Linked DNA regions of Homo sapiens: region 2 is linked to region 1. The links are contacts of gene promoters, found by promoter capture Hi-C in blood cells and fetal thymus (Javierre and others, 2016). All regions are on one chromosome and are shown on one strand. Each heading gives the region's core, a stretch centred on a gene start or on the middle of the fragment in contact. The rest is flanking DNA. Distances are from core to core; before and after follow the strand shown.

Region 1 (7,242 bases), core at 1,502-4,001:
TAGATTTCCCCAAAAAGATTAGATTTTAGATCACTACTTGTCTTTCTATGTCTAGCTTATTTCATTTAGCATAATGTCCTCCAGATCCATCCATTTTATCACAAATGATAGGGTTTCCTTCTTTTTTAAGGCTGAATAGTATTCCATTGTATCTTATATACATTTTCTTTATCCATTCATCCACTGATAAACACCTGGGTTGCTTCCATATCTTGGCTATTGTGAATACTGCTGCAATGAACATGGGACTGCACATACCTCTTAGACAATTTCAATTCCTTTGGATACATGCCCAGAAGTGGAATTGGTGGATTGGTGTACAATAATTTGACATATATTTAAAACATTTCTAGTTTTTCGCTATTACAAATAATGCTGCAATTAATATCATTGTGTATTTCTTTAAGTACTGGTCTTTACATTTCTATCAGATAAACCCCCATAAGTAGAATTTTCAGGCCAGAGAATGTCATTTTAATAAATATTGCTACATTACGTTCCCAAAAAGTAATACTAACTTACAGACCCAATAGTTTGAGAGTAACTTTTCCCCATGCCCTATTAGTACTAGAAATCATATTCACTTTTGTCCATCTGATGGCAGGGGTGGGAGGATGCTATACATTATTAGGGACAGAGAACATCTTTTCATCTGTTCACTGTCCATCTATATTTCACCCTTTTGTGAAATGCCTGTTCCAATCCTTTGTCCTTGATTCTGTTGGTTTGTCTTCTTATTTGTACTAACTTGAGATGTCTTTTATCAAAGTTTTAAAATTTTTTCGGCAATCAAATCTGCCAATTTCTTCTCTTATGGATTATGAATTCTTAAGTTTTGCTTAGGCCTCTTCTGCTATCCAAGGATTATTAAAATAATCTATGTTTTCCTCTAATTATTTTATTACAATTTTGTTGTTTTATATTTAGATCTTTAATCAATCTGGAATTTATTCATGTGGTGTAATGACTTAGTAGTTGTTCCAACACCATTTATTGAATTATCCATTTTTAAATGCTTCCTCCTAGAGTAACAGATCACTACAAATAGCTAAGACGGCAGACAGACAAAATGCCTAGAAATTTTTAAACGTCACTACTTAAAGCAGTATCCAAAGTTTATTAAAAGACATTCATCATTTTCTCATTAAAAGAAATCACATATTAGGACACATGCACACAGTGAACCACTCAACATACACTGTGAAGTTTTTTTTTTCAACATAGTAGCAAACTAAATTAAATCGCTGATCTAACTATATAAGCCTGATTTTGTTTCAACATAAATGGTAAAAGCAGAAATAATCATTGCTTGAAATCTCAAGATTAGTCATTGATTTGGGTCGCAAATATTTATTGAGCACCAACTGACTATGGATACAATGGGGAACAAAACAAGTTTGATCCCTACTTTCAGGAAGCTTGCAATCTAGTAGGAGCTTCTCTCCTCTAAAAAATAATGTTTTTAAGTGAAGAAGGAAAAAAAAGAAATGTACGTTCACACAAACGCAAAGCAGTGAAAAACATTCCGGCAAATTTTATGACACATTCTGTACTTCCCATTTCCAAAATACTATCTTATTACTTCAAATGTACCTATTTATTGTGGTGACTGTCTTCATTACTGTACTCATGTTGAAAACACTGCTAGGGAGTTATGACTAATTCCATTAGCCTCTATCTCAAAGTACCTATGTTTAGTCTCCTCACTTTCTCAACAATATTTAATTTCTTTCATTACAATAAATAAAAACCTCAATAAGAGAAATTACAAACCTATATACATCAGTCATGTTCAGTCCACCGACTCAAAAGTATTTCTTTAAAGTACATGCAGATTTAAAAATTTTCCATGAATCCGCGCGGGCGTGGTGGCGGGCGCCTGTAATCCCAACTACTCGGGAGGCTAAGGCAGGAGAATCGCTTGAACCCGGGAAGCGGAGGTTGCAGTGAGCCCAGGTTGTGCCACTGCACTCCAGCCTCGGTGACAAAAGAGAAACTCCGTCTCAACAAATAAATAAATAAATAACTCCTAGAGTCTTAGCAAATGGCACTACTGTGTCGCTGGGAGACGAAGCAAGAAGTCTGGTGTTCCCTCAACAATAGGTAACAACTGATTAGTGACAGTCACCTTAAACTTTTTGAGTACCAAGACCCAGAAACTGCCACCACTCTTAGACTGAAGCGTTCAGATGCTTGCCCCTGTGGTAACGCCCCCCACCTCAATCCCAATCCAAGGCCTCCCCCTCATACTCCAGCACCTCCCAACTGAATGGGGAGGTGGGACAAAGTACCGCCCAAGGGAAGGAGACGGGACTCCTGCTCCTGCGGGGTGACCTTGGCCAAGTGTCTCCTTCTCAGTTTTCCCATATGTGAGATAAGGTTGGTAGTCCGTGCCCGCCTCCACCATCCGGGCCGGGTTCAGCGTATAATGCCGCAAGGCTGGAGGAAAGCTCCAGCCCTGTACCCCACGCGGCTCCCCGAGACCGCGCCGCCACCTTCTGGGTCTGCGGCCAGCCGCGCTACCTGCAATCTGGGAGACGAAGGCTTCCGCCACTAGAGACATGTCGGCTGGGAGGCCCGGCGCCCGGGTGCCTGCCCCCCACGGGCCTCAGCGTCCTCCACCGCAAACCCGGAGGCTCTCGGCAGTTAACGAGCCTAGCCCCGCCAACGTTCAGACTCGCAAAGCCCACTCCAACAGCAGCGGCGGCTGCAGTGAGGCCCCCAAGGTTACCGCCAGGCCTGGCTAGGGACTTCCGGCGCAGCCGACAACGGCACTCGAGCGCTTCCGCCGGCCCCGCCCCCGCGCCGTCCTACGGGGCGCCGGCGCGGCTAGCTCCGTCCAGCCAATTCCAGGCTCTGCGCTGGGGGCCCGCAGGTGGAAGCGAAGTACCCGACTCGTCTCCCACCCAGGGGACTGGCAGGGGAATCTGGGAGATTTTTAGCGTCCTTTCTGTAAGCCAGAATTTTGTAACCGAGTAACATTTGTAAACGCCCACTGGATACCAGGCACTTATATACCTATATCTACACACACATATATACATATATACACACACACATACACACATATATAATATATACACGTATATATGTACACATGTACATATATACACATATATACATATATATACACATATATTCTATTTGACTTCGTCTTCTCAACAACCCATTAAAGTAATAATATTATCGCCATTTTACGGATAAGAATATAGGCTTAAGGAGTTTAAACTGCCTGCCCAGGCAGTCCTCCAAGGACCAGATTCAAGGCTGCATGAATTCCCTCTATTCCATTATATTGCTGGGTTGATTAGTCCGTGGATAGACATTAGTGTTTTTTGTTGTTGTTGTTTATTCAAACATGCTTGGCAGAAAGGAGGCTTGAGCAGCGCCTAAGCCAGAAGGTAATTTGTCCTTCAACTCCATACACCCGAAATGATGCTCAGCTTGGAGAATAAGATACTTTAGTTTCACACACTTCTCACCTTTCGGGGGTGAACGGGGCAGGAAGAGGAGAAACTAAATTCCCTGAGTAACTTTGTCTTAACCTAATAGCTTCTTAAATTACACAATTAAAGAAAAATCATATGCATTACAGATTGGTGGTATTACAAGTGGGACAGGCTTCAGAGCTGGTAACCCAAAGCCCCCTTCACTGATGAGAAACAAGTTCAGAGAGGTGAGGTAACTCATTTTAAATCACACAGTAAATCAAAAAGTCAGACAGCTTACTAGGTTTTTGCAGAGGAAACCTGTATTCTAAGAATTACTGTCCATGACATTTAGAAAGCTATATTTCCATTCTTTATATCCGTAGATCTCTATTACTGTTCATTCTGCCTCCTTAACTAGCGTGGTTGGTTTCCTAGAGCTGCCAGATTACCACAAACTGGTTGGCTAAACAACAGAAATTCATTCTCACAATTCTGGAGGCTAGAAGTCTGAAATCAAGGTGTCAGCAGGGCCATGCTGTCTTGCAAGGCTCCAGAGAAGGGGGTTGCCGGCAATCTTCCATGTACTTTGGCTTGTAGATACATCACTCCAATCTCTGCCACCACATCACACGGCATTCCCCCTGTGTGTCAATGTGTTCAAATTTCTCTCTTCTTGAGAAATAACACCAGTCATTGTGTTAGGGACCCCCACCCTAATCCAGCAGGACCTCATCTTAACATGATTTCTTTTCTTTTCTTTTCTTTTTTTTTTTTTTTTTTTTTGAGATGGAGTCTTGCTCTGTCACCTAGGCTGGAGTGCAGTGGCGTGATCTCGGCCCACTGCAACCTCCACCTTCCAGGTTCAAGCGATTCTCCTGCCTTGGCCTCCCAAATAGCTGAGATTACAGGTGCGTGCCACCATGCCCGGCTAATTTTTGTATTTTTAGTAGAGACCGGGTTTCACCATGTTGGCCAGGCTGGTCTCGAACTCCTGACCTCATGATCCGCCCGCCTTGGCTTCACAAAGTGCTGGAATTACAGGCGTGAGCCACTGTGCCCAGCCCCATAATTTTTTTAAGGTTAAGTCATATTTTCATCTCCCTCAGCAAAAGGAAGCTTCTTAAACAGCATTTAAATTTACCCAATAATTTACATTGACATAAACACAGCAGCGTCTTAGGAAGTAGTGTCTTCTCTATAGCTGAAATTCAGAGTTGACAAGCAGCTGTGAATAGTAGAAATACAGGGAAGATAATATTAATAGGTTTTTCTTGTTTGTGCAGAGAGAGGTAACACTGATAGTAAAGAATACATGAGATCCAATTTCCTCCTCATCCCATAGGTATTATTGACCAAGAGAAATGAGCTGTTCCAGATACTTTGTTATCAATCAAAAGAAAAGCTTTCAGGCCCTGTCTGTTCTCCTCACAGTGGAGAATTATGTATAACTGTAATAATGAAGAAGACATATCATCACTTTAAGTTCTATTATTAATTTTGGTTTGTCATTTTTATAAAGCTGAAGACACAATATTTTGACTACTTTTTGACAGATTTGAAGTTTAAGATTTCTCCATATCATAGGGCCTGTGTGAGAACTTGAGCCAAAGTCCCTAGAGAGTAATGAAGATTCAACTGGGGAAACCAAAATCAAACATATCCAAAGGGTAGAAGTGAGCCCCAAAGTGGAAGAGACTGGAAAGAGCCAGAGACTGGACACAGATGCAAGAGAAACAGAGCAAGATTAGAGGCAAAGTAGAATGTGCCCTTAAAATTTAAGTTAAGTACCCATGGCTTGATGCATGATACATGCATGAACTGAGCTGGCTGGAAGGTACTGGTTTGGGACTGACACCAATCATCTTTATTATGGCAAGTGCCTTAGTCCATTAGGGCTGCTATAACAAAATATCTTAGTCTGGATAATTTATAAACAGAAATATACTGCCCTGACTTTCGGAGGTTGGAAAGTCCATGATCAAGGCACCAGCAGATTCAGTGTCTTGGGGGTCCCAGTTCTCACAGATAGCACCTTGTACATGTCCTCACATGGCAGAAGGGCAAAAGGGGCAAATAAACTCCCTTGGGCCTCTTTTATAAGGACACTAATCCCATACATAAGGGCAGAGCCCTCTTGACCTAATTACCTCCTAAATTCCCCACCTCTTCTTAATACTACCATAGTGGCAATTGAGTTTCAACATATGAGTTGTTGAGGGACACAAATATTCAAGCCATAGCAGCATGCTTTTTAGAAAAAAACAGAGATGTGCCGGGGGCATTGTCGATACTCAACTCTTTCTTCATTTTAGCCAGGGAAGCAGAATCATCAGCACCATATGGATTCACTTTTTCCCCCTGACTGATGGTTCTTTTGCTTCCCACACAGGCACATTTAGGCTGGAAAGAATCTGTAATGTGGGAGGTCTTTATTACTAAAAATTAAGTTCAGTAAAATGCAGATGTCTTTATGGTGCCCACAAATAAACTGTCTTTGTAATAAATAGCCAACTGGAGAAAATATATTTACGCATCTGTATTAGAACGAACGGCAGATTTAAAACTGAAGATCTGTTTAAGATCACCACAATTGAGGGAAATACAAGAAAACAAGCCACCAGAATTTTTAAGAATGAGGTTATAAAACAAAAGTGCTGGGGAATCCATATGTTACTAAAAAAATAATTACACAATTTTTTAAATAAAATATCAATGCATGACATTAACAGTCTTATTGTTTGCCCTAATAAAATCACTTTCTTGCAAAACTATTATAGAATATTTTCATGTCCCTAATCTAGACTTTTATGTTACTGTATTAAATGTAAGAAAATAAGCAGTTATTATGATGAATATATACTTTATTAAGATTAAAATACTAAGATATTTTATCTACCTTTTAATTTTCTCTGACAGAATGTTAATATTTTTAAGGTAAACGTTTTATTTTTAAAAAGGTGTCAGCAAGGAAACATTTTTGTCTATGATTCCTTTAAAATTACTATTTACTTAAGAACAATATATAAATTCAGACCTTTTTATCAAATTACTCCCTCATACCTCATCAACAGAATTAACTATAGTTAAATCAATCAACCCAAATAGAGTGTTAATACAGTTAAAAACACTAAAATAACTGTATTAGTTCATTCTCACACTGCTATAAAGAACTACCTGAGACTGGGTAATCTATAAAGAAAAGAGGTTTAATTGATTCACAGTCTGCAGGCTGAACAGGAAGCGTGGCTGGGAGGCCTCAGGAAACTTACAATCATGGTGGAAGGCAAAGGGGAAGCAAGCATGTCTTGCCATGGTGGAGCAGGAGGAAGAGAAAGAGAAGGGAGAAGTGCCACACACCTTTAAAGGATCAGATCTCGTGAAAACTCACTATCACGAGAACAGCAAGGGGGAAATCTGCCCCCATGATCCCATCACCTCCCACCAGGCCTCTTCTCCAATTGTACATGAGATTTGAGCAGGGATACGAATCCAAACCATATCTGTAACAATGTTATGCTTCAGTGCCTTAAGTTCCTCTGTTAATAGTCTTTACTGCTTTAGAAACAAACTGTAGACAACTATAAGCAATCTAATATATAAGGTTTACAAAGATATTTTTAAAAGGGTAGATAAATGTGACAGTCATTCATCCTTATATCCCTCAACTCCTTTCCTCCCCTTATAATTCCTAAGAAATTATAACCAACTCAGGACTGTTACATTCTTACCTTTTTCTTGCTTTCTGTTCTTACCCCCTATTTTAGGCTAGCACACTGTCACATAAACTATGGCATATTTGACCATGCTTTGG
Region 2 (7,452 bases), core at 4,950-7,449, 870 kb before region 1:
TTGGTTACTTGGTGTTTTTGTGCATACATAGACCCCAAGATTGTAACTGTTAAACAGCTACAAAAGTAGTTCAGCATCATTCATCAGTTATATTTCCTTTACTGTGTGTGTGTGTGTGTGTGTGTGTGTGCGTGCGTGTGTGTATAATATCTTTGCAAAATATTATTGGCGAATAGATTTTTTAAATGTCAATTTTTGTGTTGACTTTTTGCCTTTTGTGTAGCAGTTAGTTCATAAAGATTAGGCCATTTTCCACTGGAGAATCTCTTGCATTTTAAGGTTCTTTGCTCATTGTGGGCATCTTACCAAATTTTTTCACTGAAGTAGTTTTCCTCATTCAAAATGCCACATTTTCTATTAGAATGTTACTAATCTGGCTCAATATATTTTCCCTTTGTGGCTGGTAAGGAATATTTATTTGATGCTAGTGAGGCGGCCCAATCTACCAGCCAGGTCTTTCACAGAGAACAAGATGGTGGTCAACTTGAGGATGGGTAAGTGTCTTTGTGATGGAAAGCAATAATTTAGTCTTTAGTAGGCTGCTTGCTCTACATGCTAACAAACCGACACCTTTCCTCACTCCCCTTCTCCCAGACAGATTTCTGTTGGATTAGTAGTAGGTTGACTTGTTCCGTCTCACATAGATATACTTCCAGAAGGTGTCGCGGTGATGCTGTGAGACTTAACTTGTCAACCTAAACTCTTTTTATCTGAAATGCAATAACAATTGCCAAGTTTTCCTAATATAAAAATAGTCTAAATCAATTATCCAGGCTATTGTTAAGCCACACTAAATTATGGGATTAATAAGCAAACATTCAGGTAGTTCAGTGGCATTTGATAAGGAAATTTAATTTACTCACATAAGATTACACTTAGAAAATTATTGGCCAGGCGTGGTGGCTCACTCCTGTAATCCCAGAACTTTGGGAGGCTGAGGCGGGGGATCACCTGAGGTCGGGAGTTGGAGACCAGCTTGACCAATATGGAGAAACCCTGTCTCTACTAAATATACAAAATTAGCCAGGCGTGGTGGTGCATGCCTGTAATCACAGCTACTCGGGAGGCTGAGGTAGGAGAATCGCTTGAACCCAGGAGGCAGAGGTTGCAGTGAGCTGAGATCACGCCATTGCTCTCCCAGCCTGGGCAACAAGAGCGAAACTCCAGCTAAAAAAAAAAAAAAAGAAAATTATCCATATAGGTCCCATTGTTTTCAATAAAGTAAAGGTAGGTTTTTAAAGAAAAACTTTGTAAAAACATACTCTGGCCAGTGAATTTAATTTCTCTGTAAAATAATAGCTTTTTTTTTTTTAAAAAGAGTCTTGCTCTGTCACCTAGACTGGAGTGCAGGGGCAGGATCTTGGCTCACCACAATCTCCTCCTCCCAGGTTCAAGTGATTCTCCTGCCTCAGCCTCCTGAGTAGCTGGGATTACAGGTGCGTGCCACCACATCTGGCTAATTTTCGTATTTTTAGTAGAGACGGGTTTCACCATGACGGTCAGGCTGGTCTCGAACTCCTGATGTCATGATCCACCCTCCTTGACCTCCCAAAGTGCTGGGATTACAGGGCGTGACACCGCGCCCGACCTAAAATAATAGTTTTAAGAGAAACTGCTGCCTTGTGAAATTGAATTCTCAGTCTATAATGTGGCGTATGCTTCTGTTTTAAATTCATTATAAAAGGTATTTAAACTTCATAGATTTCTTCCCCCTGTGTATTTTTGTCAGCCTAGACGCACAAAGAAAGAAGAATGCTCTATACCTTGTGGACATTTAATAAAGATTAATTTTTTTAAACTAACAATTTAAGTATAATCTCCAAATGGAAGCATATCTATGTTAGTTTAAATCCTTTCACAATAAATAACAGAATACAGGAAACTTTTAGGAAGGTTTATGATTTTCCATAAGAAAAATGTGCTTAGAGCTTAGAGGGGAACATTTTACAATTTTTTTAAAAAAATCTACATCTTCCTTCTGCAGATATCAATACAATCAATTGACAGTAAATGAAAAAGCCGAAAAAAAAGAATGCCCCCTCTCCAGTCTTCCTTTTTTTTTTTTTTAATTTCAGTTGGAAAATCCCCACTGAATGAATTTTTTTGAAAAAGTAAATGTATCCTGGGAACATGCCGTTCAGGATTTTGGAAAAGGAACTTCAAACGAAATTGGTAAGGGAGGCAAATGCGTAAGTGGAAACTTTGAGGAAACTGGCAATGAGAGACTGGAAATCAGGCAGTCATTTACGTTTTACTTCACCACCCTTTGCTTATGTGAGTACAAAGCAGGGAGCTGGCAAGGCTGTGAGTCAGAACTCTCCTCTCAGGAACTGAGCAGAGAGATTCCCAGCATCTGTTTCCTCAACTATCACCCAGAGGATACTGGTGGTAAATCACAGGGAATAAAAATAGCCTCAGAAGTCTAGTTCCAGACAAATAAGGCATGCTGGATATTCGATAGTGGTTTGGGGTCTCAAAATTCTTCATTAGCTAAATAACAAATATATTATTTTTTACATTAATGAGCATATTCCTTACATTGTTCACCTAAATGTTGAGCACAACCTTGGCATTTCTACTGACGTGAGTTGAAGTATTACCTAAATTACATTATGTTTGATGTTACAGTCTGAACCATTTAGTGTATAAAGGTGGGTCTACAATCAATAATCACAAATGTTAAAGCTTTATTTTAGATACAATAAAACATTTATTTCTAAGATGTTAAAAAAAAACCCATAAGCTTCTTACCATAATGTCAATTGCCAATAGATTGATAAGATCTTTCTGCATTTTGACTGCAGGAAATTTTATGGCTAGAATCTTACAATTTACACAACTTACAGTCTTTTTAGGTTATATTTCACATATAAGAAAGTATTTTTTAGGTCTGCCTAGAAATGTTGTAATTTGATATTAAGTTATAGCTTAGATTTTCAACAAAAACAGCAGCTGTAATAGATGAGATTAGCAAGTGGTGAAAAGTTCAAAGCATTTAATGGAATTGATCTACTAAATTAGCATTGACAATTTTTAGTGGCTATCTTAAATATACATTATTATCATGAAAGAATTAGTCCAATTAAGCCTTTACATTTGGAAGATGCCCAGTCTGACCTTGTTCTACTCAATGTGAAAAGTGAGAGGGTCTTTGGGTTTATTTAAATTTGGTGTTAAATCAATTGGTTTGGGGGACCTTTTACTCCTTTTTGGAATGGAAGAAAAACTCAAAGGCTATTTATAGTGACAAATGGGTTATTAGAACAGTTAATATATTATATTATAATTTATAATTATAAATTATAATTAATATAATATATAACAGTTTTTATATTGCAAATAAAAAATGATGACCAGGAGTTGCTCTGAACCTATTCTGGTTTAGGGAGCTGCCCAGCTAAAAAAAAAAGAAAAAATAATGATTGAAGAATAGAACAAAATAATATTTGATACATAGGTGAGAATCAATTAGAGTGGGATTCTTTTCTCACAATTTCTTACTAAAGCCATATTTACTGGGTATACTGGATGTATTTTGGAACTGAAATAATTATATTGTATTTAATATCAGGTTTTATTTAGAACACTCTCAATTAAGAAATAACCAGCTAATAAAAAAATAGAAATCTATGCAAATATACATGAAGAAATAAGTATGGGATTTTCCAGAAATCTAATTTCTATACATCAATAGTATATTTTATATTCTGTTGATACAGACTTCTATGATAACTTGAACATAAATATCATGAAAATAAAATTGAGTTTTGAATTGTCAGTTTAATTGTGCAAACTCTCTGATGATGGCTGGTTACTCATTTATCATGAAATTGTGGAGTCTTGGCTCTTACGTAAGGGGCTTGGTTGAAAGGCCAGCTTCTTAATTCACAGCGGCTTATACGTGAGTCTTCATTGGAGCTCAGGAGCTAGCTCTTTTGTGAAAGCATTTAGTAAAATATATTTTAGTTGAGGTTTTTTTTTTTTTTCTGTTGTTATCCATTCCAATATTTAATGGTCCATTTCCCTAATCTGGGCTTCTAACCCAGACACTTTTGGACATTTTTAATAGAAAAAGATGTCTTTTGCGTAAGATTTCTTCAAAAAGAAAATTGTAACTAATTTACCCCCCAGCTTTCTCTTCTATAAACGGAAAAATCCAATTCTCATTTATCAACTCCCCACCTTTTTAAGTTCTCCTCTGAATGCTCAGCAAATTATTCATATCCATCTTTAAATATAGCACTCTGAGGGGAGTTTAGTGCTTTATTAAGGTATCTGAGGAAGATGGGAGATGATCTCATTTATTCCTGAGGATGTATTGAAAAATCCTCTCTCTGCCAGACTCTGCTAGGTGCTGGGAATACAGTAAGATTTAACAAAAACCTTGAGGGAGAGAAAGATTTGCCAACAAGTAATGGCAATACAACATGTTAAGTGCTAACATGGGTGTAGACAACATGCATTTGTCTGTCAGTCCTAATTCGGTATTCATTGTCAAAACAGTATTTTAAACTGCTACAGCAATGCCTACTGACAGTCATATTTCTATGCAAACAATTTCTAATTAGCTCCTGTAATTCAGGTGTGTACTTTGAACACATTTTTCCATACTACGTTTAATCTACATTTTGTTTCTTATTTGTACAATTTTATCTTAAATTGTTATTTTACCTTCTAAATTTCATTTTTTGGCCTCTTCTGTCTGTTATTCGGGTTGATATCAAAAACACCATTTGTCGTCTCCTCAATTTGAATGCTTTAGTTAGAACTCCCCAGCCAATCTATAGTTAATGAATCAACAGTTGTCTGTTCCTGGTCTATTTTCCTAGCATGCCTTGTAGGAGAGAATCAAAAGCCTTCCTAAAGTCCAGCTTAGGGTTCATCAGTTAATTTTCTGTGATCCATCAGGCCTTCCACTCTGCTATGTAATAGGATGACTGTCTATTATCTACATAGGACAAGTTCTTTGTGAAGCTATATTGATTATTAATGATTGTGTAATTAGGTACGCTCTCAAGAGTTCTGGTTATTTTGGTCCTTTTTTGAATCTCTAGGCATCTACTCAGTTCTCTGAATATTACACAAAGGTAGGGACAATAATTTTGTACCACTCATTCAGTGTTGTCAAATGGAAACAAATCAGAGCTGGGGCTATCAGAAAAGAAGTGGGCAAGTCATGCATCCTGGTCATCGTCTATCACATGTCAGCATTAGCTTCTGCATAGTGCAGCACTGATCATGGCATGATGCAAGCTTTATTTGGTCACCATGGACAAGTATTCCCCTTTTATTGATTTGTAATACACCATTAAGCTTCATTGTAATAAAATTGGACATGATAGATAGCAAAATGATAAAAACCACCTGTAATTCCCCTAACTAGAGACTAGCATTGTTAGCAGTTTGGTTTACACATGCACGTTGGTGTATGTGGATGTGTGTGTGTAAAATGTGTATAATAAACATACATACTGTTTTGCATCAACCCACCTTTTTCACTCAGTACTACATAGAGTTCATTTTTCTAAGATAATGCACATCATATAACCATAGAAATTCAACTTTTCAGTATTGAATCACAACTGTGTTCTTTTTGTTGTTCAATAATACTTCTCTAACTCCATGAGTAAAAAGAAACCTCTCCTTCACTCATACCTCTCTTATAGCATTATCTCTTTTTAAATTTAGGTAGATTCCTTATTATCTTAGTAATTGCAGTCTCTGAGAGTAGGATCTATACATGATTTATCCTTATGTTTCTTACATTTTAGCTGCATAATAAATATTTATTGAATAAATGAATACATGAATTTTAGTAACGGGAACTGAAATCTTGGAACTTCATGTTTTGCTTTTAGTTCTGTCTCTGATTTCACTTTGTACCTCAGTTTACCCAGGTACAGAAAGGATATAAAGCAATTTGTCACTTACCTGAAATCACCAAGCTATGAAATATACCACGAAGCTAATGTGCCACACAGCTGGAAATAGTTCTTTAATATTAATCATTTTGAATGAAATTTTTCAGATGCACTACATACTTTATTACTATTTTTTAGCAAATGAAAGATATTAATGTAAAACAATTGGAAAATACAAACAAAAAAATTCTACTAGTAATTCTACTACCTAGAAATGAACATTATTATTTTGATGTCTGTACTTCCAACCTTTCTTTTCTATGTATACCCATGTATGTGAAATATAATTTTCACTATAGATTTTTATCAAATTGTGATCCTAAATACTATCATTACTTTTTCTCATTAATATAAACATCTTTACATGACAATAAATTATCCCTAATAATCAATGTTGATGATTATATAGTATTTCATTATGGGAGTATGCCATAATTTACTTAATCGCTCCTCCCCTTATTGAGTATTTAAGTTATTATCTACTTTATATATTATAAATTATAAAAAGCATTGTAATGAATATCCTGGTTTACAAGTCTTTGGACATTTGGCAAGGAAAAGTTTTAAATATCCTCTTTTAAACAATCAAGTTTAGGCAAGTGAAAGTCCCTTTTTCTTCCATCACAAGATTAAACAATAAATATAGCTTATCTGAATAAATTTCTTTAGTGTATGAGATGGACTAAGATTTTTAAAATTATTATAAAATAAGGGCATGCTACCCTGATTGATGATAATGGAATTACTTTCTGTCTCAAGTTGATTCTAGAATACTTGTTTGGCCTCATTTGGTCTTTTGTGGCATGAAAAATGTACTTCTTTATTAGATTCAGTCATATAATGGAAGAAATGAGATTCTAAATGTTCATGTTTCCTGGAAGAAGTTGCTACCTAGCTGTGTCTTTGTATAGTTTCATAAAACTATAGGTTGGGAAGGAGACTGGTTTCTGTGATTAACTCTGTTTCTCAGTTTCCATTTTGTAAGTGGGACAGAACTAATCACTCTAAACATCTAGAAATCTTTTAAAACTTTAAAATCCAAATGCTTTACATTCTGTTCCCCCTGCTTTTGTGGTTGTACTGCAGCAATTCTGTGTTTTGGAGCTAGTTAGTAAGCACTTTGAAAACCACTATCACAGTGTTTACCCATTTTGATGAAGCTTTGAGTATCTCGGCTTTGTTTTTTAAAAGCCTATACATGGCATTTTCAGGTGGTCTCCCATCCAATATTAACTGGACCATTCCTGCTTAGCTTCTGAGGTTAGATGAGATCAGGCAGTATGGCCATATATTGGATATCTATGATTTGGCATAGAGGAAGCACTAAAGTACCATTGTACATTTTGGGGATTGATGAGAAAAGAAAACTTTGCCACTATTTTTGTATAAAATAAATCACTGTTAATTGGAGATTGTGGGATTTTGCGATTGGGAGCTAGAGAGTAAAGAGAGATCATTATTTTTATTTTAAATAAATCAATGCTGTTAATTCAGATATCCTATTCAAAAGCTAAGAAAAATTGGAGATTAC

What was found. The method cuts DNA at HindIII sites, captures the fragments that hold promoters and counts their contacts. A CHiCAGO score of 5 or more calls a contact.
Region 2: a fragment that was not itself captured here is called in contact with the fragment with the promoter of MTX2 in region 1 in 1 of 17 cell types (activated CD4 T cells); the score reaches 5.2 in activated CD4 T cells.

The regions. Positions count from the first base shown.
Region 1 is chr2:176,264,951-176,272,192 of GRCh38, reverse strand. MTX2 (metaxin 2) reads right to left here and starts at 2,751. Exons shown (of 10, transcript NM_006554.5): 1 at 2,524-2,751. The coding sequence starts at 2,563. RefSeq lists enhancers at 1,857-2,482, 2,483-3,110 and a silencer at 2,815-2,904. The HindIII fragment of the contact is 3,129 bases long and covers 1,421-4,549 here.
Region 2 is chr2:177,138,460-177,145,911 of GRCh38, reverse strand. All of the region lies in intron 1 of LOC105373760 (a long non-coding RNA gene), which reads left to right. It also overlaps the pseudogene RNA5SP112. Among named protein-coding and RNA genes, the nearest start is that of MIR4444-1, 71 kb to the left of the region's middle. The HindIII fragment of the contact is 1,768 bases long and covers 5,316-7,083 here.